Linked DNA regions of Homo sapiens: region 2 is linked to region 1. The links are contacts of gene promoters, found by promoter capture Hi-C in blood cells and fetal thymus (Javierre and others, 2016). All regions are on one chromosome and are shown on one strand. The core of a region is centred on a gene start or on the middle of the fragment in contact, and the rest is flanking DNA. Distances in the headings are between cores, read along the strand shown.

Region 1 (3,975 bases), core at 1-2,500:
TCGTGGCGTCGGGCTTCCGGAGCTTTGGCGGCAGCTAGGGGAGGATGGCGGAGTCTTCGGATAAGCTCTATCGAGTCGAGTACGCCAAGAGCGGGCGCGCCTCTTGCAAGAAATGCAGCGAGAGCATCCCCAAGGACTCGCTCCGGATGGCCATCATGGTGCAGGTGCGGGCCGCTGTGCGGGCGGCGGGGCGGGGACGCGGCGCCCCGGGTTAACTGTGTCCGGGAAGGCTGGGGGAGGGCGGGCCCAGGGAGCGAGCGGGCCCGGGCCCTCGGAGCGGCACTTGGGGCCTATGGGGCCGCGGCCGCCCCTCCTCCCGAGCGGCCCGGCCGACCCTTCCGGAAGGTTTTGCTGATGTTGCAGGAAAAGCCCGGGAAATAAAGTCTGCAGCTGGTGTTGCCTTTCGCTTTGTGAAAACGAGGAGCCTCTTCTCTTCTCCTTTCTGGGTGGCGGTGTTTTATTACTGCCGTTCGCCTCAGGGGTTGGGGGGGAATTGTACATGGTCTCTTTAAGCTAATCTGATTTTGACCTATCTTGTTCTGGAGGGTTTTTGTTCTACATGGATGGTGGCGACTGACATGTGGGTTTTTTTTTTTTTTGTTAAACCTATTTTTGGCAGTCATTTCAACACGTCATTTAAACGCTCACTCTCATTTTTTATTTTAATTAGGCAGAACTATGCAGAAAGGTGTCATTTCTGTACAGTACATTCACTTTGAGCCTAATTTGTGCTTTAAAGTAACATTTTCCCCAAATTTTCCAGATTCACAGACGCGTTCTCTTGGTGCATTTGCAGCTGTCTGGTTTGAGTAAGAGTGGCTCCAGGGGGGTTTCTCATGTGGGCTTTTTGATAGATTGAATCCCCTTCTGAGGTTTCCTGAGCCTTCTGTGAGGTGGTGGGCTTGAAGGCCCCTGTCATTTCCCAGGGGCTCCTGCCTCCAGCTTCCAGTTTGCCGATGTCTACCTTTGTATTAATAATTCTGGTTCTCATCTGCCCTGTTCCTCCTCGCTTCCAACATATTACCCAAGCTTAGTGCTCATGGTCAAGGTAGCTTGATTTTCCTCCCTTCCATGAGCTGTAATGTGTTTTAGGAATGACCAGATATCCCTCAGTGGATTTTCAGTACTTAGTACAAGGGAGGGCGACATTTACCGAGTGGATACCCAAGTGCCAGGTGTACTTCCGTTATCTTATTTCACAATATGCCTGTCATCTTGGTGTCCTCGGGGCATACCTAAGTCAGTACGTGGCACACAGTGCTTATTTGGTAGGCATTTTTTAAGTTCTAAGCACTCTGTTAGGTTTTAAGGACACAGAATCCACCTTTGGGAATTTCCAGTTTGGTTAAACGGGAAATGACTGGTAAACAAACGTTACCGTAAGAGAGGATGGATGCCACCTGATGGAGCTGTGCTCTAGGCATTGTGTGCCTAGGAGTCCGAGATGACCCAGCTAAGGGTGGAAGCTTGATTAGGAGTCGTTAATTCACAGAAGTGGAGCAGAAAGATGAGAATAGGGAAGTAGACAGGGCCTACAATTTGAAGAGCCTTGTTGCCCACTAAGGAACCTAGAACTTACTTTGAATATACAAGGCAGCCTGTTATGAAGTTCTCACTCCTGGTGCAGGAGCTCTTAACCCAGGGTCTGTGGGATGGTAGGTAGAAGGCAAGAGGTCCATGAGTTTAGATAAGAAAAAATTGATATCTCCATCTCCACTAACCTCTAGATAAAATTATTTCCTCTAATCATAAATGTAAGCAGCAAAGCAAAGGCATATTAGCAGTCCCTATTTTTTTTTCACCAGTGATAATTACAGATATTTTCATATCACTTTACAGTTGGAAGTTTTTCAAAATATAATTTACTCTCATTGCTACAAAAATCACAGTTATTAGAGGCTGTACTAGATCTTGTTATTTAATGCTTAAAAGCTCACGGGTTACTGTACCCAAATTACCTTTCAAATGTTTTGATAATTATCTCAGTGTTTCCTTTTCGAGCCTTTTTGTTTGTTTTGTTTTTTGAGATGGGGTCTCACTATGTTGCCCAGGCTGGTCTCAAACTCCTGAGCTCAAGCGATCCATGCACCTCGGCCCCACAAAGTGCTAGGGTTACAGGCATGAGCCACCGTGACTGGCCATTTGCGAGCCTTTTTATTACGCATTTTTAAATGTTATTCTGAGAAAGGGACATCCAGGCGCCTTAACAGGTGGGCAGAGTACCGTGTTCTGGTGGAAAGACAAACAAAACCCAAGTCCAGACTGTGTTGAGGCTAGAACAACACCGCTGTGGAGGAAGTTAGAGGAGGCTTAGCTGTGGGGGAGGCCGGATGGAGGAAACTGAACCTGATCAAGTTTAGCATTCTGGGGCCGGGCTTGGTGGCGCATGCTTGTAATCTCAGCACTTTGGGAGGCTGGGGTGGGCAGATTACTTAAGCTCAGCAGTTTGAGACCAGCCTGGCCAACATGGTGAAACCTGTCTCTACAAAAAAATGCAATGATTAGCGGGTCGTGGTGGTGCGTGCCTGTTAAGTCCCAGCTACTCCGGAGGCTGAAGCTGGAAGATTGCTTGAGCCTGGGAGGTGGAGGTTGCAGTGAGCTGAGATAGTGCCACTGCACTCCAGCCTGGGCGACAGACCCAGACCCAGACCCAGACCCTGTCTGAAAAAAAAAATAGTAATAACAACATTCTGGGCTTTCCTTTGGTATACTTGATAGTGAAAGAAACTCTTTATTATTAAAAGTAACTGTGATTTTTATGTAATGGTGATTAAGGGTGGATTCAGAGTTTTAATTCAGAATTTAAAGTTGGTCTGGTAGACTGAGCTGGTGAAGGCCAAAAAGAAAGAAGCCTTTTCACTTGCTTGAATTTAAATACCTTCTTTTACATTTACATGGGAGTATTGTTCTCTGAGTATCTGATACCTGACACTTTAGCCCTCATGCCTGGGGCATCTTGGGAGGGATGAGCTGGGCCCTCCAGCATTTTGGTGGGAGGAGGATGGCGGTAGACCTTTGAGTTGCTCTGTCCTGGGAGGGTTTGAGCACCCGGAGGCATGCAGTGAGGTCAGTTCATTCTCTCTGTGGCCTAGGTGGACAGGTAGCATGGCCTGTTCTGCACAGAAGGGAACCCAGTTCACCAGCTGCTGGTTGGGTGAGGACCCTGGTATGTTAGGTGCTCAGTTTTTGCTTGGGTGCACAGCCAAAGATTCTGTGCCTTGCCTCAGCTGTGCAGCTAACAAATGGAGTCGATAGTCTTGTGACCTTGGTTTGGTGCCTTTCTGCCACATCATTCTCAGTCCTGAGTTTAGGGCAAAGCATTGCTTTGGTCAGGGGTGCTTCTGCTGAGGCTCTTGTCCTCTAAGCTTGTGCTGTGATTGCACCATTGGGCAGCACCTCCAGGGTGTCCAGCACTGTGCCGGTGGTTGGGGGAGACAGCACCCAGACCAAAGGGCAGCAGGTCTGGGGCCCCTGGCAGAGCCAGGAAGAAGTGCCATAGCCATTACCTGTGCTCTTTATACAAGGGTAACTGGAACATTGCACAGGAAGGGTAGACAAGGGGTAGACAAGCAGGCAGAGCCAGGTCGAGGCCATTGCAAATATTCCATGATAGCCAGATGCTTAGGGATCTGTATCAGCAGCCTAATTGAGATCTGGTGGAACGTTTGAGAGTTGGAACATGAGTATGCTCTCAGAAATGCCATTTGTTGTCTCTTCTACAGCAGGAATTTCCCCATCCTTCCTTTTTTGTTCCATCTGACTTGGAGCCCTAAGCAAACACTGCGTGCCCTCTGTGACATGTTGCTAGAGAATAGCAAGATAGGCCCTTATGAAATAATCACCAAATGCATAGTTCTTAGTGAGGGGAGCTGTGGAAGGAGCATTGGGAGATCTGAGGGAGTGCTCTGAACAGGGCTGGAGAGCATTCCAGACCCAGGGGAAAGCTGATGTTGAGGAGTCCTTGTGCTGCCATAG
Region 2 (3,975 bases), core at 871-3,370, 3.2 Mb before region 1:
TGCAACCTCCACCTCCTGGATTCAACCGATTATGCTCCCTCAGCGTCCCAAGTAGCTGAGACTACAGGCATGCACCACCAAGCCCAGCTAATTTTTGTATTTTCAGTAGGGATGGAGTTTCACCATGTTGGCCAGGCTGGTCTCAAACTCCAGACCTGGAGTGATCCGCCCGCCTCGGCCTCCTAGAATGTTGGGATTACAGGTGTGAGCCACCGCCTGGCCGCTACCTCCTCTTTTTTTTTCTTTTCTTTTTTTTTTTTGAGACGGAGTCTTGCTCTGTCTCCCAGGCTGGAGTGCGGTGTGGCACCATCTCAGCTCACTGCAACCTCCGCCTCCCGGGTTCAAGCAATTCTCCTGCCTCAGCCTCCTGCGTAGCTGGGATTACAGGCACGCTCCACCACACCTGGCTAATTTTTGTATTTTTAGTAGGGACGGGGTTTCACCACGTCGGTCAGGCTGGTCTCGAACTCCTGACCTCGTGATTCGCCCGCCTCAGCCTCCCAAAATGTTGGGATTACAGGTGTGAGCCACCGCGCCCGGCCGCTACCTCCTTTTTGAGCCCAACTAAAGAAACATCAAGGATTGATACCCTCCCAGTTGAAGAGAAAGTGACAACTTTAACCCAAATCTCACCTTCCTCTTACTTTCTCTTTCCCATTTTCCAGCTGCCAAACTAAGGGCAGCTGCTGTCAGTTTTTGTAAATAAAGTTTCCAGGGCTGGGATTAGAGCGAGAGAAGAGAGGCAGGATTGTGAAAGGTCAGGAGTGGATACTCAATCAAAATTTTTTATATTTTGTTCATTACGGATTTTTTAAATTAATTTTGATTTTTAAAAATATTGCACTAAAATGTTTATGTTGATTATTGAGGTTTTTTTATTTTGTGAACCCATAAAATTTGCAACTGACAGTACCCTGTCCAGGTCCAGTAAAAATACCTAGGAGTCTACAAAAATCTACCCACGACTCACTGGACCTCAGGTACATATCCCCCCCCGCCCCCATGAAGTCTCCATAAAGTGTCCCAGTGAGTTTTAATGTTCTCTCCTGTCTTTCCATGCACGTGTATTAAGATGCATTGCCTTCTGATTAGTGTTTTCCACTTCGAACAGCGGGAATGCCTCGACCACGCCTGTCTTCAAATTTCTGCTCTAGTTAAGAAACGATCTCAGGCCGGGCACGGTGGCTCACGCCTGCAATCCCAGCACTTTGGGAGGCTGACGCGGGCGGATCACCTGAGGTCAGGAGTTCGAAAAGAGCCTGACCAACATGGTAAAACCCCGTCTCTACTAAAAATACAAAATCAGCCGGGTGTGGTGGCGTATGCCTGTAATCCCAGCTACTTGGGAGGCTGAGAAGGGAGAATCACTTGAACCTGGGAGGCAGAGGTTGCAGTGAGCCGAGATCGTCTCAAGAAAAAAAAAAAAAAGAAAAAAAAGAAACGATCTCTTCCCTTCTCAAAGTTATATACATTTCACTATTCGCCAACCACCTCCTCCACGCCGTCCAGAGCTGAGCTGACACGCAGCGAAGTCCTCTCAGTGGTCCCTCCGCACCTCAGCCCTGTGCTTGGCAGCGAGACGAGTGACAGGGCCGCCCCAGCATGGGTCTCCCGGGCCGCGGACCCGCCCCACGCCGTATCCAGCACGCTGTCCTCCCGCCCCATCTTTGTGCCGGCCATCGTGTGGTCGCGTCTGCGCGCTCCGCCCGGTCTGCCGGCGTGAGAAAGAGCTCGTGTCGTTCCCAAGTTCAGACCAGAGGGGACGGCGAAGCGCGAAAAAGTTCCCTGCGCCCAGTACGCAGGCGCAGCCGTGCTCCTGGGCTTCCCGGGCCTCGTCCCAGCTGGCGCGCCCGGCGCTCCTCCGCCAGCGGGCAGTTGGGGGCGCTGCAGGGAGGGCACCCGAGCGGGTTGGGGGCGCTCGGAAGGGTGGCTTGCAAGGTCCGGGTAGCTGCAGTCCCCGGAGTGGGGCGGAGAGGCGCGGCACCGCGCGGACGAGGATGGGGCGGGGGCGGGCGCAGCCCGAGGGTGCAGGCACGATAAGGCGGGTGACAGCCAGCGGGGAGGGGCGGGCGCCACCGCGTCCACGCCCTTTGCTCGGGGCCGGGCCGGGAGGGTCCTCGGGCTTTGCGCGCGCCTGGCCGGCGGGCTGAGGCGTACGGGTCGCACGCAGCGCCATGCGAGGCCCCCCTGCCTGGCCGCTGCGGCTGCTCGAGCCACCGAGCCCTGCCGAGCCAGGTCGGCTCCTGCCGGTAGCCTGCGTGTGGGCCGCGGCCAGCCGCGTTCCCGGGTCCCTATCGCCGTTCACTGGCCTGAGGCCGGCGCGGCTATGGGGCGCGGGGCCCGCGCTGCTCTGGGGCGTTGGAGCCGCGCGCCGCTGGAGGAGCGGCTGCCGGGGCGGGGGTCCGGGCGCCTCGCGGGGCGTCCTGGGCCTCGCGCGGCTCCTGGGGCTGTGGGCTCGCGGCCCCGGCAGCTGCAGGTGCGGGGCTTTTGCCGGGCCAGGCGCTCCTCGGCTCCCGCGCGCCCGGTTCCCGGGCGGTCCCGCAGCCGCTGCCTGGGCAGGGGACGAGGCCTGGCGGCGCGGGCCGGCGGCGCCTCCCGGGGACAAGGGGCGGCTGCGCCCCGCAGCGGCCGGACTCCCGGAGGCCCGGAAGCTCCTGGGGCTGGCGTACCCTGAGCGCCGGAGGCTGGCAGGTAGGGTCCTCCCCGGCCACTTCCCTCCGCCGGGCCTCTCCTTCTCCACACGCGGGGTCCCGGGGCGCCGAGAGGGACACGGCCGGGCCGCAGAGCGCGTGTCACCGCCGCCTCTCCTGGGCCACTCCTAACCCCGGAGGAGGGAGGGGATCGCTCACCTCAGAGTAGCGTTGTCAAGATTTCGCCTTAGCTGGGGACTCGTTTGCAGATTTTACACTTGTTTTCTTGTTGACACACGTTATATATGTCATTATTGGAATCTTTGGGTCTGTTCCACCACCAACTTAGTGGGAGCATCTGTTTTGGCTTAGGCAGCAAAATGAGCTGGAGGTTTTTCCTTGGAAAAAAAAATTCTAGCCAAAAATATGCCTATTTTGTTATTAGGCGTTTATACTTTTTTTTTTTAACCAAAAACACATTATTTGCTTCAAGCGAGTCTGTCAAGCAGTCACCAATGCTTTCACAGCGGAAAGCAAAACTTTCAGACTTGTCTCTTGTGCAGGAAGTTACAGCACTGTGTTCAACAGGCCACACCAGTGATCTGTTCAGTAATTGAGTAACTTTTTTAAAAGAAGCCAAAATGAATGTTTTTAGAAACAAAATTTAAATAGGACAGTTTTCTATAGCTCCTCATTTTTTAGCCATAATTGGAGGAGTGTTTAGATGCAAGGGCCTTGTAAGATCTAAAATTTTTTCGATTTCTCTAAATCTTCACTCCTTCTATAAACATCTGTTGAGCCCTCATTCTGGACTGGGCCCTGGGTTTACAGTGGCATGCACAAGGAAACATGGTCCTCACTTCTGCTGGGGCTTCTAGGTTAGTGGGGAGAAGCATCTATGAAATATTCGTATGTATAGAGGTAAACCTGCACCTGTGGGCTGTGGAAGGGGGCCTGTGGGGCCTGTGAGGTTGTCAGGTGCAACACCAGAAAAGCATTCTTTGCTGCAAATCCATTGCTTTAGAAAGGACCCTCCTGGGTAGTGATTTGGGATTTAGAGTAGGTTTGCACAGTGGAGGAGAGCAGTTAGGGTGGCGACTTTTCATCTACCAGTTGCTATGAAAGCTTAGGGGGCTGTTGATATCACTCGGGTGTAAAGAGAATTATTTCATTGTTCAGTTGGTTGAGTGTAGATTTTGTTGTAAAATATCTTTTTCTCTTTCCTCTTTTTAAAAACATTGGAGACTAGGAGCTCTCACTGGACTTTGAGCTGCTTGAGACGGGGACTGTGCGATTCATCTTTCTGTCTCTAGTTCTTAGCATGTGCACGGCACAGAGCAGGCGC

What was found. Contacts are between HindIII fragments. The CHiCAGO score rates a contact against its expected background, and 5 or more counts as called.
Region 2: the fragment with the promoter of ABCB10 here is called in contact with a fragment that was not itself captured in region 1 in 1 of 17 cell types (non-activated CD4 T cells); the score reaches 5.5 in non-activated CD4 T cells.

The regions. Positions count from the first base shown.
Region 1 is chr1:226,403,999-226,407,973 of GRCh38, reverse strand. It overlaps PARP1 (poly(ADP-ribose) polymerase 1), which reads left to right. Exons shown (of 23, transcript NM_001618.4): 1 at 1-164. The coding sequence starts at 45. Among named protein-coding and RNA genes, the nearest start is that of PARP1, 2.1 kb to the left of the region's middle. RefSeq lists a silencer at 207-306 and an enhancer at 1,257-1,316. The HindIII fragment of the contact is 437 bases long and covers 1,032-1,468 here.
Region 2 is chr1:229,556,852-229,560,826 of GRCh38, reverse strand. ABCB10 (ATP binding cassette subfamily B member 10) reads left to right here and starts at 2,120. Exons shown (of 13, transcript NM_012089.3): 1 at 2,120-2,691. The coding sequence starts at 2,175. RefSeq lists an enhancer at 1,341-1,530 and silencers at 1,701-2,400, 2,461-2,910. The HindIII fragment of the contact is 4,467 bases long and covers 1-3,757 here.